Regions from separate parts of the Homo sapiens genome. Here regions 2, 3, 4, 5, 6 and 7 are each linked to region 1. The links are contacts of gene promoters, found by promoter capture Hi-C in blood cells and fetal thymus (Javierre and others, 2016). All regions are on one chromosome and are shown on one strand. Each heading gives the region's core, a stretch centred on a gene start or on the middle of the fragment in contact. The rest is flanking DNA. Distances are from core to core; before and after follow the strand shown.

What was found. The method cuts DNA at HindIII sites, captures the fragments that hold promoters and counts their contacts. A CHiCAGO score of 5 or more calls a contact.
Region 2: the fragment with the promoter of TFE3 here is called in contact with the fragment with the promoter of KDM5C in region 1 in 1 of 17 cell types (neutrophils); the score reaches 6.1 in neutrophils.
Region 3: a fragment that was not itself captured here is called in contact with the fragment with the promoter of KDM5C in region 1 in 1 of 17 cell types (fetal thymus); the score reaches 6.2 in fetal thymus.
Region 4: a fragment that was not itself captured here is called in contact with the fragment with the promoter of KDM5C in region 1 in 1 of 17 cell types (neutrophils); the score reaches 6.2 in neutrophils.
Region 5: a contact is called between a fragment that was not itself captured here and the fragment with the promoter of KDM5C in region 1, in 1 of 17 cell types (neutrophils). The highest score is 6.2, in neutrophils.
Region 6: a fragment that was not itself captured here is called in contact with the fragment with the promoter of KDM5C in region 1 in 1 of 17 cell types (fetal thymus); the score reaches 8.3 in fetal thymus.
Region 7: a fragment that was not itself captured here is called in contact with the fragment with the promoter of KDM5C in region 1 in 1 of 17 cell types (naive CD8 T cells); the score reaches 6.7 in naive CD8 T cells.

Annotation. Positions count from the first base shown.
Region 1 is chrX:53,223,799-53,226,498 of GRCh38, reverse strand. KDM5C (lysine demethylase 5C) reads left to right here and starts at 1,292. Exons shown (of 26, transcript NM_004187.5): 1 at 1,292-1,759. The coding sequence starts at 1,610. It also overlaps a transcript of IQSEC2 not described here. RefSeq lists enhancers at 971-1,020, 898-1,192, 1,031-1,410, 1,651-1,750. The HindIII fragment of the contact is 15,929 bases long and covers 1-2,700 here.
Region 2 is chrX:49,041,978-49,044,677 of GRCh38, reverse strand. TFE3 (transcription factor binding to IGHM enhancer 3) reads left to right here and starts at 1,321. Exons shown (of 10, transcript NM_006521.6): 1 at 1,321-1,567. The coding sequence starts at 1,452. RefSeq lists a silencer at 1,351-1,590 and an enhancer at 1,132-1,995. The HindIII fragment of the contact is 3,845 bases long and covers 812-2,700 here.
Region 3 is chrX:56,802,314-56,805,013 of GRCh38, reverse strand. All of the region lies in intron 2 of NBDY (negative regulator of P-body association), which reads right to left. Among named protein-coding and RNA genes, the nearest start is that of NBDY, 74 kb to the right of the region's middle. RefSeq lists an enhancer at 1,432-1,571. The HindIII fragment of the contact is 1,215 bases long and covers 791-2,005 here.
Region 4 is chrX:48,948,248-48,951,034 of GRCh38, reverse strand. The region is part of intron 1 of OTUD5 (OTU deubiquitinase 5); the gene reads left to right. Among named protein-coding and RNA genes, the nearest start is that of OTUD5, 8.0 kb to the left of the region's middle. The HindIII fragment of the contact is 6,417 bases long and covers 1-2,787 here.
Region 5 is chrX:48,903,633-48,906,332 of GRCh38, reverse strand. SLC35A2 (solute carrier family 35 member A2) reads left to right here. Exons shown (of 5, transcript NM_005660.3): 4 at 851-1,587. Among named protein-coding and RNA genes, the nearest start is that of SLC35A2, 6.7 kb to the left of the region's middle. The HindIII fragment of the contact is 2,327 bases long and covers 196-2,522 here.
Region 6 is chrX:56,764,325-56,767,024 of GRCh38, reverse strand. The region is part of intron 2 of NBDY (negative regulator of P-body association); the gene reads right to left. Among named protein-coding and RNA genes, the nearest start is that of NBDY, 36 kb to the right of the region's middle. RefSeq lists an enhancer at 2,409-2,700. The HindIII fragment of the contact is 519 bases long and covers 1,050-1,568 here.
Region 7 is chrX:48,594,839-48,597,586 of GRCh38, reverse strand. It overlaps WDR13 (WD repeat domain 13), which reads right to left and starts at 95. Exons shown (of 10, transcript NM_001347217.2): 1 at 1-95. The HindIII fragment of the contact is 260 bases long and covers 1,233-1,492 here.

The DNA of each region.
Region 1 (2,700 bases), core at 43-2,542:
TCTTTTGTTTACTCAACATTCATTTACTGCTTAACATGCCAAGTGCTAAGGATGTATAAGGCCACATGGTCCCTGCCCTTAAGGAATTCATAGTCTGATGGGGGAAAACAAAATTACTTAATCAGCATGTACGCAAGTACTCAAATATTTGCACAGTAGGTGTTCAAACTATATGCAGTAGGTCCACAGCTGATGAATGACACAGATGATCCTCCAATCAGTAGATGCCTGATGTATATGTACAAAGTACTGGTTTGATGATACTCATTCAAAGTACTGTAGTTGCAATGAACCTATTCAGAAACTGCTCAAGGAACATGCACACGATAGGACTAAATGTACATACAGTTGGTACCAAATGCACAGGGGCTATACACAATAAATACAATAAAAGTACACGGATGTTTGGTAAGTGCACTGTAGGCTCACAAATGGGCAAACAGGTGTTTTACACAGTTGACACTGGATAAATACGCCGTTGCTAAACATCCAATAGTTAAAGTATACATACACACAGGCTTATTTTGTAGGAGTATATGCCACAAATGTGTACATGGTAAAAGTGAATACAGAACAGTTGAAAGCGTTCATTAAAATGCTGACTCCCAGTGACTTTTGGGGGGTAAGAATCGAAACCCCATCTCTCTACCTGTAACCTTGGATGAAATAAAGATTTCCTTCCTTTACTTGGGACTCAGAATCCTAAAAATCCATAATCCCCGGGGAGTGAGCAGCTTCCTGCCTTCCTTATTTCAAAGCCCCAGAGGTGTCAGTGTCTAGAGCTGGAGCCTAGTACATCTCCCCCCATCCCGCGGGCCAGCATAAGGGGTCCTTTGCAATCAGGCTCCCAGAGCCGCCTTCCGCGGCCCATACCGTTAAGACCAGGGAGAAGGGACAGAGAACACTGGTGCGGGGCTAGCGACCTGGTTGAGGTCTGCGGGGGAGTGCCGGTTTGACTCCACCACCCACGGACACCAGCTCCTCTTCCGGTCTCCATAACGCGCATGCGCATCACTGGCCTTTAAACGTGCACCGCCGGTCCATCCGGAAAGACGATCCGGCAAACTAATTACAATCTTGTTCCTCCGCCGTTGCAATGAACTATTTTCTCTCAGTCCGGGGTGGTACTTTTGAGTAACCCCTTCCAAATAGAAACCCATACCAGCCTATTTAGCTCGGTCTCCACTATATGAAGGTTTCCTAGGGCTTGGTGTGACGCAACGTATACGAGGCTCGGAAGGACACCCCGCGGAAGGATCCGGTTTGTTGTGGTGTGGGGAGGGGAGACGCTGACAAACCAAGATGGCGGCGGCGGCGCTGAAGGCCGCGGCGTTTGGGAGGTAACTGTGGTGGCGAAGGCTGCGGTAGTGGGGAGGCAACCACACAGTTTGGAAGAAACGGAGCGGGACGAAGAGGCGGTAGCAGTAGAGTCAGCCTGAGACTCTCAGAGCACGACGGCCACACGCCCCCTTAGGCCCTCGGCGGGCGGCGGCTGCCCCGCTTAGGGCCTAGCCTCCGAGCATTGCCTCGGCTTCAAACAGCGGCGGCGCCATGAGTCCTTAAGGGCGGTCCAAGCCTCCCGATCCCTGGCCCAGACCTCGGGCCCACCATGGAGCCGGGGTCCGACGATTTCCTACCGCCACCGGAGTGCCCGGTGTTCGAGCCTAGCTGGGCCGAGTTCCGAGACCCTCTTGGCTACATCGCGAAAATCAGGCCCATCGCAGAGAAATCGGGCATTTGCAAGATCCGCCCACCCGCGGTAAGCCCCGGGGCCGGTTTTCGCCGGCGGCGAGACGGAATGAAGCAGTAGGATAGCCAGCGGCGAAGTCTGGGGCGGAGGGCAGCTCGAGGTGGGGAGAGGGGGTGGCTGGGACCGTTGTGGTTGCGGCGCGGATCGGAAAAAGGGTGTTGGGCCAGGGGTCCTCTCGTGGTGTGAGGCCCACAGGTGACCTGGAGTCAGAGATCCACCCCCACCCCGGCCCTTCAGAATCACTCCGGGTTTAAGACAGGGATTCCTAGTGGGCCGGAGGGAGTTCACAGAGAGGCACCCCGCACATCTCTTAGCCCGGGCCACCTAGGTCGAGGCTGTAAAAATAAGACGTTTCTCCAATCTGTTGTCATCACTTCCTTTAAGGCAGGCAGCATAGTATAGTATTAATAGAAAGATCGCAGTCCTGAAGGGAGACAGACTTGAGTTCAAAACTCCACTTTGAAGCTGAGCAGCTGTGTGACCTTGGGAAAGTAGAAGTAATCTCTCTGAGCCCGTGAAATGGATCCCAGAAATGGTTATTTAGAGGATTGAATTAAACTAGGTAGCGTCTGTATGTAGTACGCACTAGATAAGTGGTAATTATTGTGACTGTGAGGGTGTTTGATGTGGTCATTGGTTTATTCCTATGTAGGTTGACTCATATTTACTCATACCTTGCCAGGCCAATTCATCTATGATAATATCCTGGCCTGCTGGACCAGTCAGGAAATCAGTCTCACAGGGATTGCTCTGTCTCCCTTGAGGTGGGTTCAGGGAATTGTCCTCTTCTTTTCCTCGTTGAAGGCAATGTCAAGGCCTTTTCTGCACATCATCCCGCAGACTTGACTTCCTATGGAGATGTTTGGACCGGTCAGCTTGGTGGTGGGGTGTGAGTCCTTCTCAGAAGATTTCTACTCTCCTCTGGTCCAGGATGTAGGAGATCCCAGAGG
Region 2 (2,700 bases), core at 72-2,571, 4.2 Mb after region 1:
TGGTTGTGTGTGAGTATGGATGAGTTTACGAAAGCAACTGACAGACCTGTGAAATAATGATGCCAATACAGGAAGGTCCAAGGTAAATGAAAGCCCGGTGAAATTCCTGGAGGCGCAACTCAGGGTGGGGTCTTGGGATGTCAGGAAAGAGGAAGGGAAGGCTGTAGGTCTGGGTGTTTTGTGAGCTATTTGCACCTGAGGATATATGAGTGAGACCCTCCGCCTTGTGCGAGCCGGCTTGCATGCGTCTGGCATACAGAAGCGCTCAGTGAATGTTGAATAAGTGAACAAATGAGTGAATCAACTAATTTTGGGAAGCTTCTTGTATGCCAAACAACCTGCTAGCACTTTTCATACATTATCTTTAATCCTCAGAACAACCCTGCCAGACAGGTATTTTGACCCCCATTTAACAGGCCAGGAAAGCTGAGGCTGGGAGAGGGGAGGTCCCCTTCCCTATTCAAACCTGGATCTTTGTGATTCCAGAAGTCGTCATTCACCGAAGGGACCAGATTCATTCACCCGTCAAGAATTTATTAAGCACATATTGCGCAGCGCAATGAACATAGTACAACCGCTCTCGATGGCATGGAACAGGCGGAATACTCCCGGAAGACCAGCTGGGCGGCTGGACTGCGGACAGCGAAAGGGGGGGGTTTCTGGCCCGCACCTTCAGGGAATGTAGCTGCCTCTGCCTCATAGTTATGGCTTTGGCTGAGAGAGCACAGCCAGATCGAGGTTGGAGCGCGGTCTAGGGCTCAGATATTACAAATATTGGCCGAAAGAGGGCGCGGTTCCGCAGCTAAAAGCTTGGCCAGGAGACCCTCCGTGCGCCGACTGGCCATCGATGCGCAGGCGCAGAGGACCCAAGGAGCGGCTTAATATTACCTTGCAGAGGGATAATTTGAGAAGAGAGGGCGTGGCTCCGAAAGCGACGCAAACATAGAGGCGTGGTTCAACCAAATCAACCCTCGCCTATTTGTCGCTGCCCCTGAGGGCGTGGTCTGGGTGCTGCTTCTCGGAATGAGGGCGGGCCGAATCGCGTTTTTCCTCCGCGTCGGAGGCGTCGCTTAGGGTGGGCCCTCGAATCGCCGTTCAGCGATTGGCCGCCTCGCTAATGGGTCGTGGCCAGACGGGCCATCCATCCCCAGTGCGGTCACTTCCTGTGGAGTTTCCCCATCCCTGGGAGGAGGGAGGAGGGGGAAGAAGACGAGGGGGAGGAGGGCGGTCGTCCGGGGTTAGGTTGAGGGGGGGCGTCGGTCCGTTCTGGGCGGGGGATGACTCACAGCCCATCCCATCTCCCCGACGCCGCCCGCCCGCGCAGTGCTAGCTCCATGGCTTAGCGGAGGAGGCGGCGGTGGCGAGCTGGGGGGAGGGGGGACTCTTATTTTGTTAGGGGGACCGGGCCGAGGCCCGACCGGCCTGGCAGGGCTCGCCCGGGGCCGGGCGTCATGTCTCATGCGGCCGAACCAGCTCGGGATGGCGTAGAGGCCAGCGCGGAGGGCCCTCGAGCCGTGTTCGTGCTGTTGGAGGAGCGCAGGCCGGCCGACTCGGCTCAGCTGCTCAGGTGCGGGGCCGCCTGGGGCTGGGAGTGCCGACTGGGGCTCCCAGGGGCCTGATCTCGGGGGCAGTGGGGGCCCCGGACTGGGATTGGAGGCCCTCGGCCTAGCCTTGGAGGACGTCGGGGCGCCCGTCTTGGGGGGGCACCTAAGGAATCCGGCAGTGGCCTGCTTGGATTGTGGCTTTATTAAAGGAGTCGTGGGAGTGCATTAAGCGGGGTCTGGGTCAGGTTTGGGGAGCCCTTGACTGCGTCTAGAGGGGCCTATTCTGGAGTATCCAGAAACTGGTCTGAGATAGCTGAACTTGGTAGACAGGGTCTCTGATTAGAGGCTGAATTCGGGGATTTTCAGTCGGACATGAGGGGAATGAATTTGAGGGGACACTGTCAGGTGAGGCACTGGTTTTAAGGGAATCCTAGAATCTTTTTTCCCTCAGTGTGGGAGAAGGGGTCCTGAGGGACAGAAGTGCTGTCTTGGGAGCTTGGTGCCTCTCAGTGACTGGTTGCTGTGTTTGGGGATAACATGAATCTGGAGGGATTTGGAGGTATCTCAGATATGCTGCCTGGGACCAGCCTTGTGAGTGCGTGTGAATGAACAAGAGAAGCAACATTCAGCAAGACTTGACCAGAATAATCCTTTCCCCTCTGCCCGCCTACCCAGCTGGGGCAGATCCCAAGGATAGTGGAAAAGCCCTCTTCCCACACCTGTTAAGGGCCTGAATGGAAGATAGACAGCCAGGCAGAGGGCGATGATGTTACCTCTTAGCTCAGAGGCCTCAGACCTTGTTTGGGAACCCAGAGGAGGCTCTTGTTCATGCTGCTACTCGCTCTAGCCTCTCAGCCCTTCCCACTCCCTAGCCCCACACCCCTTTTCTTTTTATCTTCTTTTCGATCTCCGAGCTCCTGGGGGTAATCTTGAATCTGTCCATAGAGCTGGAACGAGTACAGATTGCACCATCCCTGCCTGGGTGGATCCCCTCTGGCCTCTTCTCATCCTTACTTTCATCAATGGGCTTTGGAGCCCCAGCCCTCCCTGCTCACCCCAGTGCCCATCTCTTCCAACTTCTGTGCAATGGGTGTGTGAGCCCTGGGTGGGGGGGGGTCTTTGCCTCCTTTGTGCCTGGGATTGTGCTGAGCTCAGT
Region 3 (2,700 bases), core at 149-2,648, 3.6 Mb before region 1:
TTCTCTCCTCTAAAGCTCTGCACGTTCCCAGTGCAGCCTACACATCCAGGAAGACTTGTAACAAGCGAAGAAAGAAAACATTTGCAATATTCTGAGATGGTTGTGTTCCATGCTGCTCTCCAGTCACTGAGAGGCATGGGTAAGACATGCAACCTTTAGAGCAATGAGGCCACAGCTTTGCATCTCAACAAGTGTTCTGTATGAAGGACCCATGCATGGCTTTCCCATTTCTGCCTGGAGACCCAAAAGGGGTGGCACAATTTGTCCTCCACTGTCTCATCCATTTTCCAGGCTGAATAATCTGACAAGCAATAGAATTCAGCTTGAGGAGCCCAGAGTGCTCGGTATCAAACCAAGGAACAGCCACCTCACCATCTGCAAAGACACGCCAGCCTCAACCTTCACTTCCATGCCCAGCACAGGAACACAGAGGAGGCCCAGGCGAAAGTGAGCATGGCTGGGGCCTGGCTACCCATGTATTTGGCAGAATGACTAAGATGCCCGGGGAATTAACTGGTGAGCCATCACATTCAGTGAGCACACATGCTCCATCAGCTATGCCAAGTGGCTTTCTCTAGGAGAGCCGCCTGTGGAAGCCACCCAGAATACCCCTCCTACTCTTGGGCATGGATGAGTGCCTGGGCTCCAGTGAGAAAAGTAGCTGAAGGCCTGGGACAGGTGTCCAATCTGTCGAGTCTCATCCTGACAGACACCTGGCCCGACCTTCTTCTGCTAGAAGGGTCAACAATCTATGGATGCCTGTTGGACCTGGGTGCTTTTGATCCAAGCTTTTGTCCCTTCCCCAAGAAACAGTGTGTTCCCTATTTACAAGCGTAGTGCTCACAAGCAGGCAGCCTGGTCTCCTTAGGAGGCTTGTGCAAATTCAGAGAAGTAATCAGCAGTGGCCTACAAGCAGGCCCATGCACTCACACACCCCTCCCCCATACCCCTTCACATTGCCCCCAGTGCGACCTATCCCCACCATGCCACAGCCCCAAGGGTGGGATTTCTTGAGGATAGGCTCCTCTGGCTCACTGGGACCCCTGCCCAGAGAGGAATCCAGAGGGAAGGAGGGAGGCAGAGAGCCTTTCGCATGTTGCAGGTTTCCCCAAAGAGACCATGTAGGTGGGGAGTCCTGCTGTAGATGAGGTGAGCGCTCCTTGGCCGGTTTCTTTCTTTCTTTCTTTTCTTTTTGTTTTGTTTTGTTTTGTTGGAAGCAAAAGGAGAAAGAGAAAAGCAAGGGAAATAAGTGACTGCCATTTCTGGAGCCACACTGCCATCCAGCGGCAGTTGTTTCTGAACACGACCGGCTGCAGGGATACTTGCCTTCTGACAGGCACAGACTTCAGCGAGAATATGTCGGGCTGGGTGGACTCTGACTAAGCCAGAGTTTCCCCCATCGCGGTTTTAAACCTTTGAAGGAAGTGTGCCTGCCATTTGGACCCCACGGAGAAGCAGCTAATCTAGAGGCCCAGGGACAGAGCAGCCAGGCAGCCCCAAGACCAGTCAGTCCAGAGTGCGGAGGTGCCCTGGCAGCCATCTTGAGGTGGGCTTAAGGGAAGCCACTGACTACTGACGGCCGAGACTGGGGTCGTTTACACTGGTCTCTTTTGTGGGGAGTTCTGGGGTGCCCTTGCCTGGAATCACGCTGGGGCCAGAGGTCCCCTATCCTCCCAGTGAACCAAGGAGCTGTGGGGTGCTGTGGGCGGGACGACTCCTGCCCGGCAATTCCTGGAGATGGCCAGGGGAACCCATGGAGGGCCGCCCCTTCCTGCCCTTTTTTCGGAGAGGGCTGTGGAGCCCGGGTGCCATCCTGGTAATGAGCAAGGGCAAAGGGCCAGCCAGGAGTTCCTCTCTCGTCCAGCTTCAGCCTGGGGGCCCCACACCGCCACCATCTCTTTCGTGCTCCTGGGATTTCTCCAGCACTCATGCCCAGCTGCCTCCAGTTTCCAGAAACAGATTCCGCTCGATGGCACTATGGCTCTACAAAGGCCAACTACAAGCTTAACCCTGCCCCTCCAATCCGACGGCCTCCACCCTTTCCAATGTGAAAAAAAGAAAAGGGAAAGAGAAACAAAAAAAAGACAGGGAGGATAAAAAGGAGCCAGCCACCTGGTCTCAGGTTGACCACCAAACTTAAGGGACCCTACGACCTAGGACCAGTAGGCAGGAGACACTGCGGAAATCCTCTTTATGCCGCCAGCCTTTGCTTTTCCTTTGGCCCTCTCCAGGTTTCATGGCTCATGCTCATGCAGAAAAATAGAAGACAAATGATACATAATCATGGCCACTGGGAAACCACAGGAAGACTGGGATCATGGGGCTGCCGCCCCAGGACAAGGTGCTGGTCACCCAGCTGAATTACCCAAGGTTTTGCTGCAGGACTGGTGGTTCTCCCAAAGCCTGGAGCTCCAGATAGAGTTTACCACCTTGGGCTGGCACATGGAGGTCACCAAAATGAGCGAACAGCTCAACAGGCAGTCACAGGGCGTGTGGCAGGAATCTCCCTCAGAGGGGATACTCAGCAACTGACTGAAGTCTGACTCTGTGCAGGCTGTCCTGGCTTTCACATGGGGTGGGGGGGAGGGGTGACATGAGGGTGGCTTAGGGGAACTGGGGAAGGCCACCACGCAACACAGATTCCCATGGCATCACAGAGGGCCAAGGGTCCCAAGGGGACTGTCTGCCTCTACCCAAGGT
Region 4 (2,787 bases), core at 254-2,753, 4.3 Mb after region 1:
GAGGATGGTAGGCAGGTGGACCTTGCAGAGCGGGATCCATGCCATATTGTCTCACACCTGTGAGGCACTAGGGAACAGACACCAAGGAGTGCTACCAAGGGGGGTGTGTTAGTTTCCTGTGGCTGTTGTGACAAATGTTACCACAGACTGGGTGGTTTAAAACAACAGAAGTTGGCCGGGTGCGGTGGCTCACCCCTGTAATCCCAGCACTTTGGGAGGCCGAGGCGGGTGGATCACGAGGTCAGGAGTTCAAGACCAGCCTGGCCAAGATAGTAAAACCCCATCTCTACTAAAAATATAAAAATTAGCTGGGTGTGGTGGTGGGTGCCTGTAATCCCAGCTACTCGGGAGGCTGAGGCAGAGAATTGCTTGAACCCAGGAGACGGATTGGAGGTTGCAGTGAGGTGGGGGTTGCAGTAAGCTGAGATTGCGCCACTGCACTCCAGCCTGGGTGACAGAGCGAGACTCCATCTCAAAAAAAAAAAAAAAAAAAAAAAGAGAGAGAGAAGTTTATTCTGTCACAATTCTGGAGGCCAGAAGTCCACAATCAGTTTCACTGCATCCAAATCAAAGTGTTGGCAGGGCCACACTCCTTCTGGAAGCTCTCAGGGAGAATTTAGACCTTCTCTAGCCTCTCGTGGCTGCCAACATTCCTTGGTTTATGACTGCATCATTCTAATCTCTGCCTCCATCTTCACCATCGCCTTCTCTGTATATGTGGTTTCCTTTTCTGTCTGTATCAAATTTCCCTCTGTCTCTCTTTTATAAGGACACTTGTGATTGCATTTAGGTCCTACCTGATACTCTAAGATAACCCCCCATCTCCAGATTTAATAATGTAAGTTAATTACATCTGCAAACACTTTTTTTCTTTTCTCTTCTCTTTTTTTTTTTTTTTTTGAGGTGGAATCTCACTCTGTCACCCAGGCGCAGTCTCGGCTCACCGCAACCTCCGCCTCCTGGGTTCAAGCTATTCTCCTGCCTCACCCTCCTGAGTAGCTGGGATTGCAGGCGCCCACCACCACACCTGGCTAATTTTTGTATTTTTAGTAGAGATGGGGTTTTGCCATGTTGGCCAGGCTGGTTTCAAACTCCTGACCTTAGTTGATCCACCCGCCTCGGCCTCCCAAAGTGCTGGGATTACAGGCATGAGCCACTGTGCCCGGGCTTTTCTTTTCTTTTCAGACAGTGCTGGCCTCTGTCACCCAGGCTGGAGTGCAGTGGCGTAATCTTGGCTCACTGCACCCTCCACTTCCTGGACTCAAGTGATCCTCCAGCCTCAGCCTCCTGAGTAGCTGGGACCACAGGTGCGAGCCACCATGCCCGGTTAATTTTTGGTGTTTATTTATTTGTTTTTGAGATGGAGTCTCGCTGTGTCACCCAGGCTGGAGTGCAGTGGTGCTATCTCGGCTCACTGCAACCTTCGCCTCCCAGGTTCCAGCGATTCTCCTGCCTCAGCCTCCTGAGTAGTTGGGATTACAGGCGCCTGCTACCATGACCAGCTAATTTTTGTATTTTTAGTAGAGATAGGGTTTCACCATGTTGGCCAGGCTGGTCTCGAACTCCTGACCTCAGGTGATCCACCCGCCTCGGCCTCCCAGAGTGCCGCGATTACAGGCGTGAATCACCGTACCTGGCCTGTATTTTTTGTAGAGATGAGATTTCACCATGTTGCCCAGGCTAGTCTTGAACTCTTGAGCTCAAAGCGATCTGCCTGCCTTAGCCTCCCAAAGTGCTGGGATTGCAGGCATGAGCCACGACGCCTGGCCCTACCTTTTTCATTATAAGGTAACATTTACAAGTTCCAGGGGGGTTAGGGTTTGATATCTTTGCGTGGCTATTAATCAGCCTACTAGAGAGGCTTTTTTCCCTCCTGGGGAAGGGAAGGGAACTCATTAAGTGGTCTCTTACTGGGCAAAGCCCTGTAATATTTGAGTCTGCCCAGCATCCCTATTATTGGGAGGCTTGGTATCCCCATTCACAGATTGGAAAACTGTGGCTCAGAGCAGTTCATCATCACATGGCTAATAATTGGTGGAGCTAGATTGGAACCTAAGTCAGTTGGGTTCCACAGCCTGCTCCAACTTCACTTGGGCCCTTAGACCACTAGGTTACAGAATCTTGCCTCAGCTCCTGGGATCCTCTGGTGTTAGGGAGCTTTACTCAGCCTTTTTGTGGAGGCTCAAAGATATGGAGGGATTTTCCCATAGGCTCAGCGATGAGTTTGCAAGGTTCACAATCTCCTCAGGCCAGGGCATTGTTGGAGCTTAAACTTATCTATGGCTGAGCTATCCCCTACCCCCCACCCCTACTAGCCCTTCCTGAGCAACATTTTCTCCCCAAAAGGAGAAAGAGAAGGGCCAGAGCCCAAACTCCTCAGGCTGCTGATGACAAAGCCAGTGGGTGGCTAGCAGTCCAGCCTCTAGATCCAAGCCTGGATGCCAGTTTGACTGCCCCAGGACCCAAACCCTGCAGTGCGAGGGGCCTATTCAGGTCTCTTTCATGTTTAGAGACAAACCAGGATATTCTGTGGATGGGCTGCAAGGTATGTCCTCCATGCTGTGGCTCGTGGGGGCCTTCCCTGTTGCCTCTACACTAGGCTTTGCTGGTATCCAAACTCCAGCTCCTTTCTCTTTCTGCCTTTGTTTTTTTGTTTTTTGTTTTGTTTTTGTTTTTGTTTTTGAGACATAGTCTTGCTCTGTTGCCCAGGCTGGCTGGGGTGCAATGGTGCCATCTCGGCTCACTGCAACCTCCACCTCCCGAGTTCAAGCGATTCTCCTGTCTCAG
Region 5 (2,700 bases), core at 110-2,609, 4.3 Mb after region 1:
GGAATAGCGTGGTGGGGGGGTGTTGCAGAGGACAGGGGCTATGTCACCTTCAGAATGTCCTTGGAACTCCTTCAACCTCCCTTTTCTCGTCTGTGAAAATTGGGGGTGGAAATAGTAATGCCTGTTCACTGAGATGCTAGGATACTTAAAAGAAATAATACCTGTGAAGAGCCCTTGATTGGTGACAGATAAGCTTTAGGCTATTTGTGGGCAGCTTTGTGAAATGGTTAAAGAGCCTGGATTCTGGGGCCAGGCTGTCTGGGTTCAAATCTCAGCTCTGCTACCTTCCAGCTGTGTGATTTTGGGGCACGTCACCTAACCTCTCTGTGCCTTAGTTTTCTCACCTTTAAATTGGGGCTTACAGTGGTGCTCACTTCAGAATGGTGTTGTGAGAATTAAATGAATGAATTCACGTGCAGTGCCTAGAACCACACTGATATATTGTAAGCACTATGTAAGTATTTGCTGACATTGTTGTGGCTATTGATTCATTTGTATCAAGTCCCTCATCACAAAGATACTTCCATACCTCAGCCATCTTTTATAGATGATGATGCCAGGGCTCAGACAGGGCAAGTGCTTTGTCCCCAGTCACACAGCCAGGAAATGGGATTGGGATGTGGACTTCTTGGCACAGCCATCCTTTTGTGCACTTGCTGGGAGAGACTTCAGAACTGTTTTGCTGCAGCTCAGCCAATGGCCAGTGGCTGGCTCCTTTTGCTGTTTTTGCTGTCATACCCCCCACCCTGTCCCTCCATTGTGCCTGGGGGCCCACAGTGGGTGCTGCCCCCCATGTGCACCTGTTGGGGGCCAGGGTCAGCCCTCAGTGCCTTCCACGTGCCACTCGCAGGTGACATACCAGCTGAAGATCCTGACCACAGCGCTGTTCTCCGTGCTCATGCTGAATCGCAGCCTTTCCCGGCTGCAGTGGGCCTCCCTGCTGCTCCTCTTCACTGGCGTCGCCATTGTCCAGGCACAGCAAGCCGGTGGGGGAGGCCCACGGCCACTGGATCAGAACCCTGGGGCAGGCCTGGCAGCCGTCGTGGCCTCCTGTCTCTCCTCCGGCTTCGCAGGTGTCTACTTTGAGAAGATCCTCAAAGGCAGCTCAGGCTCCGTGTGGCTGCGCAACCTGCAACTGGGCCTCTTCGGCACAGCACTGGGCCTGGTGGGGCTCTGGTGGGCTGAGGGTACCGCCGTGGCCACCCGTGGTTTCTTTTTTGGGTACACACCTGCTGTCTGGGGCGTGGTGCTCAACCAGGCCTTCGGCGGGCTACTGGTGGCTGTGGTTGTCAAGTACGCTGACAATATCCTCAAGGGCTTTGCCACCTCCCTGTCCATTGTGCTGTCCACTGTTGCCTCCATTCGCCTCTTTGGCTTCCACGTGGACCCATTATTTGCCCTTGGCGCTGGACTCGTCATTGGTGCTGTCTACCTCTACAGCCTTCCCCGAGGTGCAGCCAAAGCCATAGCCTCTGCCTCTGCCTCCGCCTCCGGGCCCTGCGTTCACCAGCAGCCTCCCGGGCAGCCACCACCACCGCAGCTGTCTTCCCACCGTGGAGACCTCATCACGGAGCCCTTTCTGCCAAAGTCAGTGCTGGTGAAGTGAGGGCTGGCAGCAATGGGGGGACACAAGGGAGGGGGACTGGGGTGGAGGGTGTTGGGCATCTGCAGGACCCAAGTCGCCACCCTCCGGGGCCTGGCTCCTCTGGGTTTGGGAGATGGTCTTTTCTCCCAGGTCACTGAGACTTCTGGAGGGGTGTGGGACTAGAGCTGGGTGTCACGTGAACCCTTCCTGGTAGGGTGACCCCCTTCCCCTGGAGGGGGTTTTAGAGCTGCCGCCTCTGCTCCCTCTAACCTCTTTGGAGGCAGGGTTGGGGGTATTGTCATTCAAGGCCTTTTTTTTGTCTGCTCCCTCCCCGACCCTGTGCCCTCTTCTGGAGGTTTCTCGTCTGGGAGAGTCCCTCCCAGCAGTCCCTCCACCTCCATAAGGACACACTGGACAAAACTCCCGCAGCTCTTCAGGAATGACCGATGCCTACCTGTGGGGTTCAGTTGCCCATAGTTTGAGGCCTTCTCTCCTCCCTTACCACCGCTCTGGATCATGTTACTAGTTCCGTCTTTTGTGTGGCCTTGGGCCAGCTTCCTTGATACCTTGAAGATGGGCTTCTTGTGAGTCCCCAGGGAGAAAGGGACAAGAGCTAAGATTTTTGCATCAGCCCTTCTGGCAGAAGGTGTGGTAGGGGCCATTTGTTTTTTTTAGTGGACTTGGGATTTGTGGTGTAATCATATCATTAATGATCCAGGGTGTGGGAAAAATGGAGGTCCTTGAAGTGGCTGAATCTCATTGTATTTAAGACACTGTCAGTTGCCAGATGTAGGCTTATTTTTGGAGATGTCTAGGAGAGGAAAAAGCTACCAATCATACTCTTGATATCCGTCTGGCTGTGTGAGGCACCCCTACCTCATGGGGGTGTCTTGGGATTGATGAACTGTGGAACCTGCCTCCTGCGCTCCCCAAAGCTTATTAACCCCTTAACTGTATCGGGGCGGGGTGTGTGTGTGCATGGAAGATGCCTGGGCTGTCTTTGCTATATGTAAATAGAGCCATTGGATCTTTATTTTTGATTAATTTGTTCTGATTTTTTGGTTTGTTTTTTAAGGAACTGTAATGAACAAATGTCAGGATATCCAATGCCAAAT
Region 6 (2,700 bases), core at 60-2,559, 3.5 Mb before region 1:
ACCACCTTGGGATGGCACATGGAGGTCCGAAGAACGGATAGACAGCTCAACAGGCAGCCACAGGGCCTGAGGCAGGAGTCTCCCTCAGCGGGGACATTCAGCAACTCACTCAAGACTGACTCTGCTCAGGCTGTCTCGGCTTTCACAGAGGTAGGGTTGGGAGGAGGGTGGCTCAGAGAGGCTGGGGAAGGCCACCAAGTACCACAGCTTCTCATGGCATCACACAGGGACAAGGCTTGGGGGCCCTTTTTAAGCAGCTTGACCCAGGATGCTCCAGTTTCATGCCTGCTGCTTGAGCCTATCTGATAACAGACTTCCCGAATTCATTCTCAGGAGAAGGCCCTAGTTGCCCAATAAATGGCATAATGACTCAGGCCTGGAGGCAGGAATGCTCCTCTGTCTCCCTTTCCCCTTTGCATATTTCGAACCCCTGTCGAAGAGAATGTGGGCAGTCGCATGCCTGTGGCGATGTGTGTTTGTGTCCCATAATGCTTGGGCCCCTACCCCTTTGATTTTGTGAGCTTACTTTATGTGTGTGTATGTGTGTGTTTGTGTGGGTATGTGTAAGCGTGTTTTTGTCTGGGTGTGCATGTATCTCTGTGTGTGTGTTTGTGATTTTATTTCTTCTTCTGGGGGTCTCTTGTAAGTGCCTGCATGTGTGTCTGTGTGTGCCTCCCTGTGTGAGTGAGAGTGGGCAAATGAACACGTGGCAGAGACACCCTGCCTGCACACACTGAAATGTGAGCAAATGAACACGTGGCAGAGACACCCTGCCTGCACACACTGAAATTCAGATTGATGTGTTCACATGGCTTGACTGGAAAAAAAGGAGTTAGGAAACAACTTGCCAAGGCTCCTACTGGCTCAGGATTACACTTACAGCATCCAGAAGGAGAATGGGAAATAACAATGAGCCATGAGGTATTGGGTAAAGGGTGCGTTCACCATGACATTTCACTTAAAAGTAACACGTGGGTAGCCTTTTGGTGGACCAGAGGGACTAAACTCATGACCTTCATCTGTGCTCCTTAAAGAACGAATGTGAAGCTTTCTCCAGGCCTAATTCTGCAGAGGGACATCCCACATCACCAAGGAGCAAAAGAAGAAGCAGTCTGCTAGAACACGTGCCCACCCAGATCCGCAAGTGAAAGGAAAAACAGAAGCAGAATCAGAAGCAGAAGCAAAAGCAAAAAAAGAAAAAGAGGCAAAGGAGAAGGAAGTGCAGGGGGAGGGGGAGGAGGAGTAGAAGGAGGAAAAAGAAGAAAAAGAAAAAGGAGGAGTAGGAAGATAAGAAGGAGTTGGAGGAGGAGGAGCAAGAGGAGAAGGAGGAGAAGGAGAAGAATTAAAGAAGAGGGGTAGGAGGAGGAAGAGGAAGAAGAATCAGAAGGAGAACAGGAAGTGAGAGGTCCATGCCACTGTAGCTGTCCCGAAGGATCTAGTTTAGGAGGGCCTCAACGCGTGGTGACATACAACGAGGGGCACGGAGCCACTTCTGACATCCGGCTTAAAGGACACACAACCAGGAAGCGTCTTGTTGATGGGGTATTTCCTGAGTAAGATCAAAAGCTTTGATCCACAAGTAGGCCTGCAGAAGCTACAGAGAACACAGGTGCTGGCTGAACCTTGCCCTGAAGATGTCATCAGCTGACTGCAAGGGGCTACCAAGCCCCAAGGCTACAAGGCCAAGGCAGGGAAGGACCGCCCAAAAAAGAATAAGATGAAAAACGGGGAGGAATTGGACACCAGGGAAAAGAGATAATCAGCCACCCACTGCAATATGGAGACAGGGCAGAAAGGAGAGGGAAACGCCAATTTCTCCTCGCAGGGGTCAGCTAGAGTCCTACTAATTTCCTTAGGAAAAGTAAGCCTGTTTTCCCTAACGGTGTCCCCGCGCCCAGCTGACCCTGCCTTCCAGTCTGCTCCTGGAGCAGAAGTGGAGAAAAAGTAAAGAGAATGAAGAAGAAAAAAGTGAAGGGAGAAAAACTCCAAAAGTACACAAAGAATCAGTGAGCAATGAGATTGACAGCGAACTGCAATGCAAAGTGCCTCAGATGGACAGCTGGCAGCACTATGAGTGGCCTCTTGTGGCCTCACAGAGGAAGAGCCACCAGCCAGGAGAAAGCATCAGCCCCTCAAGCCCGGGTCTGCACCGCGTGGGCACAGAGGCCTGTTGGGCCAGGAAGCTGCCCTGCTCCCTGTGGCCCCCACCCCTACCCCATCCTACTGTTGCCGGTTCCCCCAAAGTGACCACATAGATGGGAAGCCCTGCTGTAGGTGAGATGGGTGCTCCTAGGCCAGTTTCTTTTTTTTTTTTTTTTTTTTGGTGTTTGTTTTGGTTTTTGGCACCAAAAACAGAAAGAGGGAAAGAAAATGGGGGAAGGGAAAGACAAGACTGCTGTTTGTGGAGCCACATTGCCATCTAGTGGAAGTTGTTTCTGAACACAACAGGATGCACGGACACCTGCCTTCTGCCAGGAACAGAGATCAGCGAGGATGTGCTTAGACTATGTCTAAGCCTGGGTTTCCCCCACCGGGGTTCTGAGCCCTTGAAGGAAGTGTACCTGGCATTGGGACGCTTTGGAGAAGCAACTACTCTAGAGGCCCCAGGACAGAACAGCCAGGCAGCCCCAAGACCAGTCAGCCCAGAGGGCGGAGCTGGCCCGGCAGCCATGTTGAGATGGACATAAACGAAGCCACTGG
Region 7 (2,748 bases), core at 113-2,612, 4.6 Mb after region 1:
CCCCCGGAGCGGCCCTGAGACCACTGTCGCCGGTTCCTTCTGTCTCTCCTCCCTTTCTCAGGCTCCAGGCAAGATGGCTGCCTGCTATCAGAAAGAACTGCCGAGCCCAGAGCGAATCGATAGGCATCCTTCCCAGGGCGTGGGAGTCTCGCAGGCGCATTGAGGGACATTGGCTTCAAGCCCAAGGACGGAGGCTCCACCCCTTGACTTCTACCCACTCGTTAATTGCACTTTTTGTGTATACAAGGATAATGTCCAAGGGACATAGCGTCAGGGGTGAGTTTGCTAATCATTCCCTAGAAATCAGAAGTACAACATTATAAAAAAGAGAAGAAACACGACTTTTAAAAAGTGGTGTAGGGCCGGGCGCGGTGGCTCACGCCTGTAATCCCAGCACTTAGGGAGGCCGAGGCAGGTGGATCACTTGAGGCCAGGAGTTCAAGACCAGCCTGGCCAACATGGTGAAACCCCGTCTCTACTAAAAATACAAAAATTAGCCGGGTATGGTGGCGGGCGCTTGTAGTCCCAGCTACTCGGGAGGTTGTGGCAGGAGGATTGCTTGAGCCCAGGACGCGGAGGTTGTAGTGAGCTGAGATCGCGCCACTGCACTCTAGCCTGGGCGACGGGAGTGAAACCCTGTCTCAAAAACAAAAACAAAAAAAGTGGTGTAGGCCACTTTTTAGCAGCACAATCTTGTCCAAGCAAAACTTGAATAATAGAATAAAAAATCATCATATATGCAAAGACGCCTTGAAAGTTCACCAGTTCTTGCAGTGGGCCTCTGCACACCCCTGGGATGAGTAAGGTCGGTTGTGTGTGTGTGACTGGGATGGTTGGACTTGGATGCCCCCAGACAGCTTGAGGCTTGAGTTTCTTTCTTTTTTTTTTTTTTTTTTCTTTTTGAGACGGGAGTCTCGCTCTGTCGCCCAGGCTGGAGTCCAGTGGCGCGATCTCGGCTCATTGCAAGCTCCGCCTCCTGGGTTCACGCCATTCTCCTGCCTCAGCCTCCCAAGTAGCTGGGACTACAGGCGTCCGACACCACGCCTGGCTAAATTTTTGTGTTTTTAGTAGAGAGGGGGTTTCACCGTGTTAACCAAGATGGTCTCAATCTCCTGACCTCATGATCCGCCCGCCTCGGCCTCCCAAAGTGCTGGGATTACAGGCGTGAGCCACCGAGCCCAGTCGAGGCTTGAGTTTCTAAAGACAGAAGATAGAATTAGGCAAAAGAAGCTTTGGGGTTTGGATCCAAAGAGGCTATCTGAATCATCTCTATTTCAACTTCCAGCAGGAAGCTGCTTTCAAACTGTTCATCTTAACGTTATCAGGGTAAACTTCCTGTTGGATCTTAACATCAACTGACATAAAATTCAAAGCTGTTATTTTCCACATTATTTTTATAACAAATACAATCAATTCAACAATGTTTTAAAGTCACCGAAAGATCACACTGTATTGTGTTGACTCAGCATCTCCCTTGTCCCTGTAACAAGCTTATCAGTGTCTTTTCATATTAAATACTCTTTTGTAACATGATTGATAAAGAGTAAACTCTATTTCACTGCACAAACATGTAACCTTAACAAGAACAACTAATATTTATGAGACAATGTGCTGGGTACTGTTCAAGGTATTTTATACATATATTAATCTATTTAATCTTTTTTTTTTTTTTGAGATGGGGTTTCACTCTGTCACCCAGGCTGGAGTGCAGTGACACGATCTTGGCTCACTGCAATCTCTGCCACCTGGGCTCAAGCAGTCCTCCTACCTCAGCCTCCCGGGAGCTGGGACCACAGACATTTGCCACCACGCCCGGATAATTTTTCTATTTTTGGTAGAGACGGGGTTTCACCATGTTGGCCAGGCTGGTCTCAAACTCCTGAGCTCAAGTGATTCGCCCGCCTCGGCCTCCCTAAGTGCTAGGATTACAGGCGTGAGCCACTGTACCCAGTCAATTTAATCATAATAACTGAAGGTTGTGGGTCCTGTTACTATCCCCATTTTACAGATGAGGATATCTGAAGCCCAGGGAATTCAAGGGTGACATTTTATTGAACTGGTTCCCTTACGTTTTTTTTTTTTTTTTTTTTTTTAAGACATGGTGTCAACTGGGCGTAGTGGCTTATGTCTGTAATCCCAGCACTTTGGAAGGCTGAGGCGGGAGGATCACTTGAGTCCAGGAAGTTGAGACCAGCCTGGGGAACAAAGTGAGACCCCATCTCTACCAAAAATTAGGCATGGTGGTACATCCCTGTAGTCCCAGCTACTCGGGAGGCTGAGGCAGAAGAATTGCTTGAGCCTGGGAGGTTAAGGCTGCAGTGAGCTGTGATCATGCCACTACACTCCAACCTGGGCAACAGAGCGAGACCCTGTCTCTTAAAAAAAAAAAAAGAGGTCGGATGTGGTGGCTCACACCTGTAATCCCAGCACTTTGGGAGGCTGAGGCGGGCAGATCACCTGAGGTTAGGAATTCGAGACCAGCCTGGGCAACATGGTGAAACTCTGTCTCTACTAAAAATACAAAAAATTAGCCGGGCATGGTGGCAGGAGCCTGTAATCCCAGCTACTTGGGAGACTGAGGCAAGGACAATCACTTGAACCCTGGAGGCGGAGGTTGCAGTGAGCTGAGATCGTGCCATTGCACTCCAGCCTGGGCAACAAGAGCGAAACTCCATCTCAAACATAAATTAATTAAAAAAGAGAGAGCGACATGGGGTCGGCTGGGCATGGTGGCTCGTACCTGTAATC